3 separate regions of the Homo sapiens genome follow, and all the other regions are linked to region 3. The links are contacts of gene promoters, found by promoter capture Hi-C in blood cells and fetal thymus (Javierre and others, 2016). All regions are on one chromosome and are shown on one strand. Each heading gives the region's core, a stretch centred on a gene start or on the middle of the fragment in contact. The rest is flanking DNA. Distances are from core to core; before and after follow the strand shown. Region 1 overlaps MSRB3 (methionine sulfoxide reductase B3). Region 2 overlaps MSRB3 (methionine sulfoxide reductase B3). Region 3 holds the start of HMGA2-AS1 (HMGA2 antisense RNA 1).

The links. Contacts are between HindIII fragments. The CHiCAGO score rates a contact against its expected background, and 5 or more counts as called.
Region 1: a fragment that was not itself captured here is called in contact with the fragment with the promoter of HMGA2-AS1 in region 3 in 1 of 17 cell types (endothelial precursors); the score reaches 5.8 in endothelial precursors.
Region 2: a contact is called between a fragment that was not itself captured here and the fragment with the promoter of HMGA2-AS1 in region 3, in 1 of 17 cell types (megakaryocytes). The highest score is 6.9, in megakaryocytes.

The regions. Positions count from the first base shown.
Region 1 is chr12:65,278,865-65,281,987 of GRCh38, forward strand. It overlaps MSRB3 (methionine sulfoxide reductase B3), which reads left to right. Exons shown (of 7, transcript NM_001031679.3): 1 at 1. Among named protein-coding and RNA genes, the nearest start is that of MSRB3, 1.7 kb to the left of the region's middle. RefSeq lists silencers at 29-158, 259-568. The HindIII fragment of the contact is 1,737 bases long and covers 984-2,720 here.
Region 2 is chr12:65,322,047-65,324,889 of GRCh38, forward strand. All of the region lies in intron 2 of MSRB3 (methionine sulfoxide reductase B3), which reads left to right. Among named protein-coding and RNA genes, the nearest start is that of MSRB3, 45 kb to the left of the region's middle. The HindIII fragment of the contact is 478 bases long and covers 1,263-1,740 here.
Region 3 is chr12:65,880,862-65,883,582 of GRCh38, forward strand. It overlaps HMGA2-AS1 (HMGA2 antisense RNA 1), which reads right to left and starts at 1,464. Exons shown (of 3, transcript NR_158985.1): 1 at 857-1,464. All of the region lies in intron 3 of HMGA2 (high mobility group AT-hook 2), which reads left to right. The HindIII fragment of the contact is 6,963 bases long and covers 1-2,721 here.

The sequences.
Region 1 (3,123 bases), core at 602-3,101, 600 kb before region 3:
GGTAAGTTCGGGCTCCCCTCCCCTCTCCTCCTCGCCTCACCCCTCCCACCCCGACCCTGCCACGTTAGGGTGTGACCCCGAGCCGGGATTCCATTCTGCGCCTGCTGCGCCCCCTCGGCCACCTGCGGGGACAGCCCCTGCCTCAGCCGAGAAGGGGAGCAGAAGGGTTGCGCCCCGCGCCAGCGGTGAGGGGCCGAACGGAAGGAGGTCAGGGCTGGTTTCCCCCCACCCGCCGAAGGGAGGCGTCTGGCAGCCTCACTGACACCTTATCCTGTCCCGGGAGCGAACCTGAACCCGCGGGAGCCTCTCGCCCCGCGCGGGCCCAGGAGAGAGGGATCTGGCGGGGCAGCCCGCGGGAGGCAGGGGAGGGGTCCATCCCGGAGCCCTCTGCTCTGTGCGTCGACCCTGCCGGGGTTGCCGCTCAGATAACGGGCCCGAGGCGTGGGAACCGGCCCGCCAGGCCTGCGCTTTTCGCCGCGCGCCTCGGAGAGGACGGGGGTGCGGGGCGGCGGGCAGGCGGCAGGGAGGGGCGCACCCGGGAGCGCACCCGCCGCCCGCCCTCCCTGCGCTGCTGCCCCGCTGCTGGGCCAGACTCCAGCGGGCCCGCCTGGCATTTCACAGGCCAAAATCGAACAGAACCCCGAGTTTGCCAGGTATCAGTTTTGCTTTGTTTTTAAGCAGAAAAAGGCATCCAAGTCTATTTTTGAAGTTTTACACTGGGCTATTTCGAGTCAAACTATATGAATGAAAAGTGCTGTTCCTGCCTTATTTGGTTTAGGGCTAATAGCTATCGGAAGTGGCAGTTATGAAGTCGTTACAGTAAGACTTTATAAGATAATCTTCTTGAATCATGTGGGAACTGTTGGGGGGAATTTAATATCAGATTATTATTTTAAAAAGCAGTTATTTTAAAGTACAAAGGTAGGGATAAAGGTAAATGTGAAATTGCATGGACTTTTACGTTTGTGATGAGTAGTCGTCAAAGCTTCTTGCTTCTTAATTTTATCGGGAATGGAAGAATATAAATTATAATTCCTTAGAGCTGAGATTTCTTAGGAGATTTTAGTTTGCTTTTGTTTTTTCTACCAATAGACTAAATTGTCAAATAAGATATGGCAAACTAGGACTCATAAATTAGTTGAAACATGACTCTATGAAGCATAGATTATATTCAGTACTCTCTGGTTTATCTCTTCATATTTTCATTTGCAGCGCTGGTGGCAAGATCGATTTTCAAAAACAATTTTGTCTATAAAAAAACTTCAGGGTTCATATAACTTATAAAATTGTCAGTTCAGATTAATGGCAGATATTTACAATATTTAACTTTATTCAATTTGCAATTTGTAAATAGTAACTTGAGCAGTGATATCAGTTTCATGTTTCTTTCTGCATAGTATTGTTTTTCAAAAAAACCCTGTTTTTTATAGATTCATATTTTGGAAGTAACTTTAATAGCACTTCTTGGGAAATACAACAGGTTCTAATTTCACATTTTTCAATGGATTTCTAAAAAATACTGTGCTGGATAGTGAAGAGTGGATTTTATTGCCAGGAAACATATGTATGCTTTCTTTTTCCTCAGTGATGTGTTGACTTACCTAATACTTGTGGTGAAACGGCCTTCGAAGACCAGAATCCACTGTACTGGCCCCTTGCCAGTAATTTTGAACATCAAGTTTATATTTGGACCATTTAAACATATATTCTTTTAATTCCGGTCCCAGCTGATATATCAGTCTAATTTCTGATGACTTTTATTAGGGCCCTATATGAATATCTGGAAATTTTTATATTAAGATAAGTAGCTCTTTGCTACTTATCTAGAATTTTGTCACAGTGCTTAAACTGCTTGTATGGCAAGGTTGCAGCATACAATGTAATTTAGATTTTGAATCAACACACTGCTTTTTGTTTTTAAAAGTGCTTGTTCTAATATTTTAACTAAGATGTTAATCCATTAAGTCAGAAATCCTTGCTATTTTGCTCAACTCAAAAGAATATCCAAAGACTATCCCAACAGTAAGGTTCATCAGTTTTTCTAATACATATGCCATTTAATAATTAAAAATAGATTTTAAGGCCACGTGTGGTGGCTCATGCCTGTAATGCAACACTTTGGGAGGCCAGTGTGGGAGGATTGCTTGAACCCAGGAGTTCGAGACCGGCCTGGTCAACATAGGGATACCCTGTCTCTACAAAAATTAAAAAAAAATTAGCTGGGCATAGTGGCTCACTCCTGTGGTCTCAGCTACTTGGGAAGCCAAAGTGGGAGGATTGCTTGGGCCAGGGAGATCGAGGCTGTGGTAAGCCGTGATCACACCACTGCATTTTTGGTTCTGTCATAATCTGGTCACAATCCCTCTAATTTATCTGCACCTGTATAATTAATTTATCATAGTTATGGATTTGGTTGATGAATTTGATTCCCATGTTTAGCTTCTCGGTAAAATTATTAAGTTGGACAGTTTCCATGTCTCTTCTAACTCCAAGATCCTATAATGTTGTTTTTGTTTATGTAACTCTTCAGAGCCACCTACTACATGTGGTTCAAACTTCTGATTGTCAGCCTGTGACTTGCTATACATGTCAAACTGGCCTACCTTAGCCAGATGTGATGGGTGTGGTCCAGTGTTGGAGAGTCCGGATCTGTCTCAGGATTGTGTTAATACCTGGAACATGCACAAAGATACATACATACCTGGACAGATTCCGTGTTAAGCTTCTATCACTTTTTCTTCCTCATCTAATAGCAGAAAGTGCTGATTATGTCATAGGGTAAATGCCTAACTGGTTTTTGGGGATAGTTAAGCCCAGGCCTTAAGACAGTTTGATATTCAGTTTTGTTATTTAGGTCTGGGTTAGGGATACCGCCAGAGAGCATCCAAACATTTCTGTGGTTGGGAAGGCTAGTTATCTGTGAGCATTCCAGATGAAATAGCCTATAATGGGTTATCACCTTTTGATCTTACCTCAGAGAAGATTGAATTGGATCTACCTATCTGATTTAGCAGAATTAAACTGGATTTGGATGGAAGGGTAATCAGCTATTTAATTTGCCAGTTGTTAGTTAGCATTTCTTCTTGCTGTATCTCAAGGATTTACTTTGAATATTCTGTATTT
Region 2 (2,843 bases), core at 252-2,751, 560 kb before region 3:
TATAAAATTTATGACTTAAAAGTACTCTAAGGTTTAGGTAACAGATCTAATTTACTTCTTAATAGGAAGTTAAAAAAGCCTTTCAACGTTTCATAGACTTTGTGAGAATCCTGTATGAAACTTGTCACTGACCCTATGTTGAAGGAGTAAATACAGGGAAAAGAGACATTGGCTAATAGATAAATGTATGTAACTTTTCTGATGTACTGAGGTGATTATTACTTTTTCCCCCTTATTATTTTGTTAGTTTTTAAGCTGAAAGTTATTGTATAGTTAGAGAAGAAAGAAGAAAAGTTGTTACATAATTTTTCCTGACAAAATATGATGACTGGCTGGGTGTGGTGGCTCACACCTGTAATCCCAGCACTTTGGGAGGCCGAGGCGGGCAGATCACCTGAGGTCAGGAGTTCGAGACCTGGCCATCATGTCGAAACCCCATCTCTACCAAAAATACAAAAATTACCCGGGTGTGGTGGTGGGCGTCTGTAATCCCAGCCACTCTGGAGGCTGAGGCTGAGGCAGGAGAATCGCTTGAATCCGAAATGCAGAGGTTGCAGTGAGCTGAACTCACACCACTGGACTCCAGCCTGGGTGACAGAGCGAGACTCCATCTCAAAAAAAAAAAAAAAAAAAAAGAAGAAGAAAGAAAATATAACAACTATGAGTTTTGCAGTCAGACAGCCCTGGGTTTGAGTTGATAAGTCTACTTGCTGTTTGTCCTTAATAAGGTATGTTATAACCTCTCCACGCCTCAGTTTCTGTATCTGTAAAATGGGCATGACAGCCACGTTCTAGAATTATTGAGAAGATTAAATGTATTTATGTGAAAGTGCCTAGACATGTGCCTGGCATGTAGGAGGACTCAAATTTTAGTTTTATTTTCTTCCTTCATTTCCCACTTTAATCATAAAAACAAGATAAGGTGTGAGGAAAATACTGTTCCCAGGGAATTATTATAGAAAAAGAATTACCAATAAAAGATTGCTGCACACTAAATACTGGACCTGGCTATCTTTTAAAATACAATTTTAACCTCAGAATTCACTGTAATCAAAATGAAGTAAGTGCTAATGGCTGTGATCCTTATAGCAGATCTTTGAGGGTGGCAACACATAGCAAAGGTGACTTGCTTCAGGTCACGTGGCTGGGAAGCAGGCAGAGCCACAAAGCAAACTGTTGCTGTACGTTTATTTGTACTAATAGCAAGAGCTTCATACTGGGGCTTCGAAACAATACTGGCCTTGAGGCAACAACACAGGACAAGCTTCGCTATAAAAAGAGACTTTGGACATATTTCAATAAATAAAATATCCTTGGACTATGTTCAAGATGGAACTGATCTATCTCAAAGTTACTCTGTAAGGAACGGTGTTATGATTAGATACCAAAATGGCAATATTATCTCCTCAAATATGTAATTGTGTTACATGTGTGTACACACACACTCACTTGTGCCTTCAAAAGACACTATTAAACATTTAAATAAAGGGAAAAATCTTTCCCAAACATACTTCTAAGCCAATTTAGAGGTCATTGAACAGATGTCATATAATACTAATGTTAAATTACCCTGTGTAATAAGAAAATTACAGTACCTAAGTGAAGATAGTAAAGGGAAACCATCCAATGAATTACTCCAGAATTTCAAAATGAAATGATTTTTTCAAGATTAACAGTGGCACCATATGACTTTAGAAAAGTGAGTCTGATAGGGAGAAGGGAAATAAGAGACAAAAGTGAAGCTTTTCTGTGTTTATATATACCAATATTTGGTTCTGATGATAGAAGGGCTAATGTAATAGTATAGCTTTAAATTGTCCAGGAAGTATATTATTATTATTAAATGGTGTGGCAAGATATTTATTAAAATCTGACCAACTTCTCATTGAATTGTTTAATGTAAAATCACAATAGTTGTTTCTAGTCTACATATATTTCCTTTTGGTATTAGATATACTTTGAAAACCTAATTATTTTGAGAATATAGTATAACCAAAGAATGAAAATGTACAAAGTTTGACAACTTTAAATAATCACTAGTATTTCTTAAAGGACAAACCTCACTTACAGTTAGGAAACAATATTTATACTTAAGGTTGAAAAGCCAGGATGTAAAAAAATTTTGCTAATTTGGAAGATGACCTTTAAGTGCACCAAAACCAAATAATTTGTAGGCTATGACATAGGGCACATTCCTACAAAATTTGTGTGAATACTGCTTTAGTGGTTCTTGAAAGACAAACAAAGAAAGCTGGAATGAAATCTTTATTCCCCTCCCAAATAAGACGGAGACTAACAAAGGAGTACAGCAGCACTCTTTCAAGGCTTGCCATTAAAACGAGGTCTCTGTAGCACAGTTAATGAGATGTTTCATAGTGGAAAACAATCTGTTTTTAAGAATGTTTAGATCAAAAGTAATTTCTAATCTATGAAATAAAGTCTCTTCAATACCCTTCATTCACTAGTAAAGCTTTTATGTTTGTATTATTTACTTCAATCAGATGTTTTCAATTTTACCTTTTTTTCTTGTACAAATACTTGACATGGTTCATCAATACTGACCAACGGTTTTATTCTCTTCGGAAAAGAGAGATTCATGAGAGAGGGAGAATGAAAAAGAGAGAAACATCTTTGCCTAAATGATTTGCAAGCATCTGTGCTTTAAGCTACTTTTTATGAACACTCCTTAGTAAATGACTCAAGGTAAAAAGGCAGAAAAGCATCCAATGTTAGGAAATTGCAATCCAATACCATGTAATTTAAACCTGCAGTTGCTTCTCTTGTACTAAATGACATACAGATGGGTAGCTTAGTTCTCTCAACTTTGGGAACACAATTGGTCT
Region 3 (2,721 bases), core at 214-2,713:
AATCATAACTGGCTCTATTTATCTTAGCATGGGTTGAAAGATATGAAAAGTTCCTTGATATGACTGGCACGATTCTATCCCATAAAACCACTCGTAAATATCAGTTGAAATAATGCCTGTAGGGAAAATTTTCAAATGTCCTTTCTGTCAATGCAGAAATGCCAGTGCAGCTTGTTTTCTGGGTGGCATGTAAGTTGTAGACAGGCACCACATTTTAGACATATTATGGTGGTGCGGTGAATTGACAGGCAGTTTACCACCATTTCCATGTATTAGATTATGTGTACCTCTGGCTATCCTGACACTTTGCCCCCAAAGTGGAGATAGTGAAAGAGAAGGAGAGAGGGAGAAGAACTCCTCGCATCTGTGCCCCTACCTCAGCAGCTCCTCCTCCTTGTCTCTGAGGGTCTCCAGAGTTTGAGAGTTTGGTGTCATGTTGGCCCAAGAGACTGTTGTCCTTTTGACAGCTCGGCTGTTTGTATCTCCAGAATGAAACATAATCAGATTTTTTTCAGATGTAGCATCTGCCTTCCCTCCAACATCCTTGGGTTAATCACGTGCTTGCTGGCCAGGATATGTAAATAAGACTTGGCTAAAAAAAACCCTTAAAGGATTATGAAGCAATCTTGCTTAATAGTAGCAGAACAAAACAAAACAAAAAACCACTCCAACAAATCCTCCTGTGTGCTACCAAGTAATGGAAAGATCCAGTTATGACTGGAACTGTCCTGGCCTGAGTATTGTCCTGGACCCAGAGGGAGCGAAGGAGGGAGGGAGGGAGGGAGGGAGAAAGAGAGAGAGAGAGGGGAGAAATATGAGAGGAGGAGAGAAATTGCTGAAGGAGAGCTTCACTCACTGACTCCGCACACATTCCCTCCCAGTGGTTGCTAATGAAGAGCCCGTGCTGGTGAAGGAAGCCTGCTGATCCCGGAACTGGCCTTGCGCGCAAGTGGTGGGATGACAGACACATTCCCTTCCTTGAACTGCACTCTTTTCCCTTGCACTCAGAGGTGGCCCGAGAGAGCCCCGGTAGGTCCCGGAGTATGTTTCCATGCTGCAGAAGGCATGGAGAGATTCCAATTGCGGGGGTTCCTCCGTAGCCTTTGCAGCTGAACGTCTCCATCTCCTGTCCCTGGGCGGTCAGTCGCTGGCATGGCTCTGTGGAGTTTTACCTCCCAGTTGTCTATCACCAAAGCTGTCCACCTTGTCCGGAGGGGAATGAGCGTGGAAACCCCTGGCGGCTGTACTGACAAAAGCAACCTTAGTCAATGACAGAGCTGGGCAGGCGGCGAGGTCTTGCGGGCTGGCCTTTCTGCTGCTGGTAGGAGGATCATGTGCTGCTATTTCGGAGGCTCCTGCCAGTTGGCCCCTGCCCACCTTTTCTGTTCATACTGAAGCAGCCAGGAACTGAGAGAAAGAGGAAGCCTCGGCTGTGCTCCGGGCTGCGCTGCCAGGGTTGCGTCTGTAGCAGGTCCAGCAGCAAAAACAAAACAGGGCAGAGCCCAGGGAGGCCCCAGCCACAGCAGCTGAGTGTGGAAACAAAGCAGCCCGCCCGCCCTGGGAAGCTGCCGCAGGCTGTGGAAGGGAACTTCTAGAGAGGCTGCATCCTCTCCAAGCCGGGAAACTGAGGCCTAGAAGACATGTGACGTATCTGAGCAGTGACCAAGCCAGGAGTAGAAATGTCTCCTGAGGGCCTGTCCCCACTGCTGTTTGGTTTTAATCGCTCAGCTCTTAATAGTGTAACCCTGGACAAGTGACTTACTCTCCCCAGCCTCCATCTCATCTGTAAAATGGGGATGAGAAAATACCTCTAAGGGTTGTTGTGACAATTAAATGAGAAAGCATAAACAAAGCACTTGGCACAATGCCTGGCCACTTAATGGGCCCTCAGTAAATGTTGGCTAGTTATGTGAACCAGAACTTGAGATGGAAGTGAAGCAGAAACGATAGGGAGTTGTTCAAAAATACCTGATCTGCTAGGGAAATATTTTTTAAAACAAGGCTGCTTTTCACAAGGAGGGGTAGGCACACTTGAATTAAGATCAGATTGATTATATGTTTTTGTTCAGCTTTGATGTTGAATTGTTTAATCAAATGGCAGACTCTGCCCCGCTTCCAGGAAGAGCTCAACTCCAACTAGGAGGAAGCAGGTAATGTGAGCCATGGCATCTTCCCCGTTTAGATTTCCTGACTCTTTGTTTATCTTCTTTGTCAATGTGCGTCTGAACCTTCCCAACAGAGTTTAAAATGTTCAACTTCAAAGCTAAATTCTGATGGAAAACACTTCCTAAGAGGCTGAAGGCTTACTCTAGGGGTGAAAGAAGAGGAAAGGCGATGGATCACACCACATTTGTGGAAAATGTTAATGCTATGTGATCTTGCCTCCTTAGACCCAGATAGATGCAAAGGATAAGGAACTCGGTTTATAGCAACAGATACTCCAAAAGTGCTTTGCATCCTGTTCTGACACTAACTGGTTGTGAATCACTTGTTAAAGATAAGGATAACAACAATACCATTTCTTGAGCCCTTACTGGGTGTCTGGTATTGTGCAAAGTACTGTCTATATATTACCTCAGTTTCCACAACAACCTTATGAAATATTTCTTCCTTTTGTGATGAGGAAAGTGAGACTTAGAGAGAAGTTAAATAACTTGTTCAAGATCACTCAGCTAATAAATGCTCCTATGCACTTAGTCACTGTGCTATGTCCTGCTTACC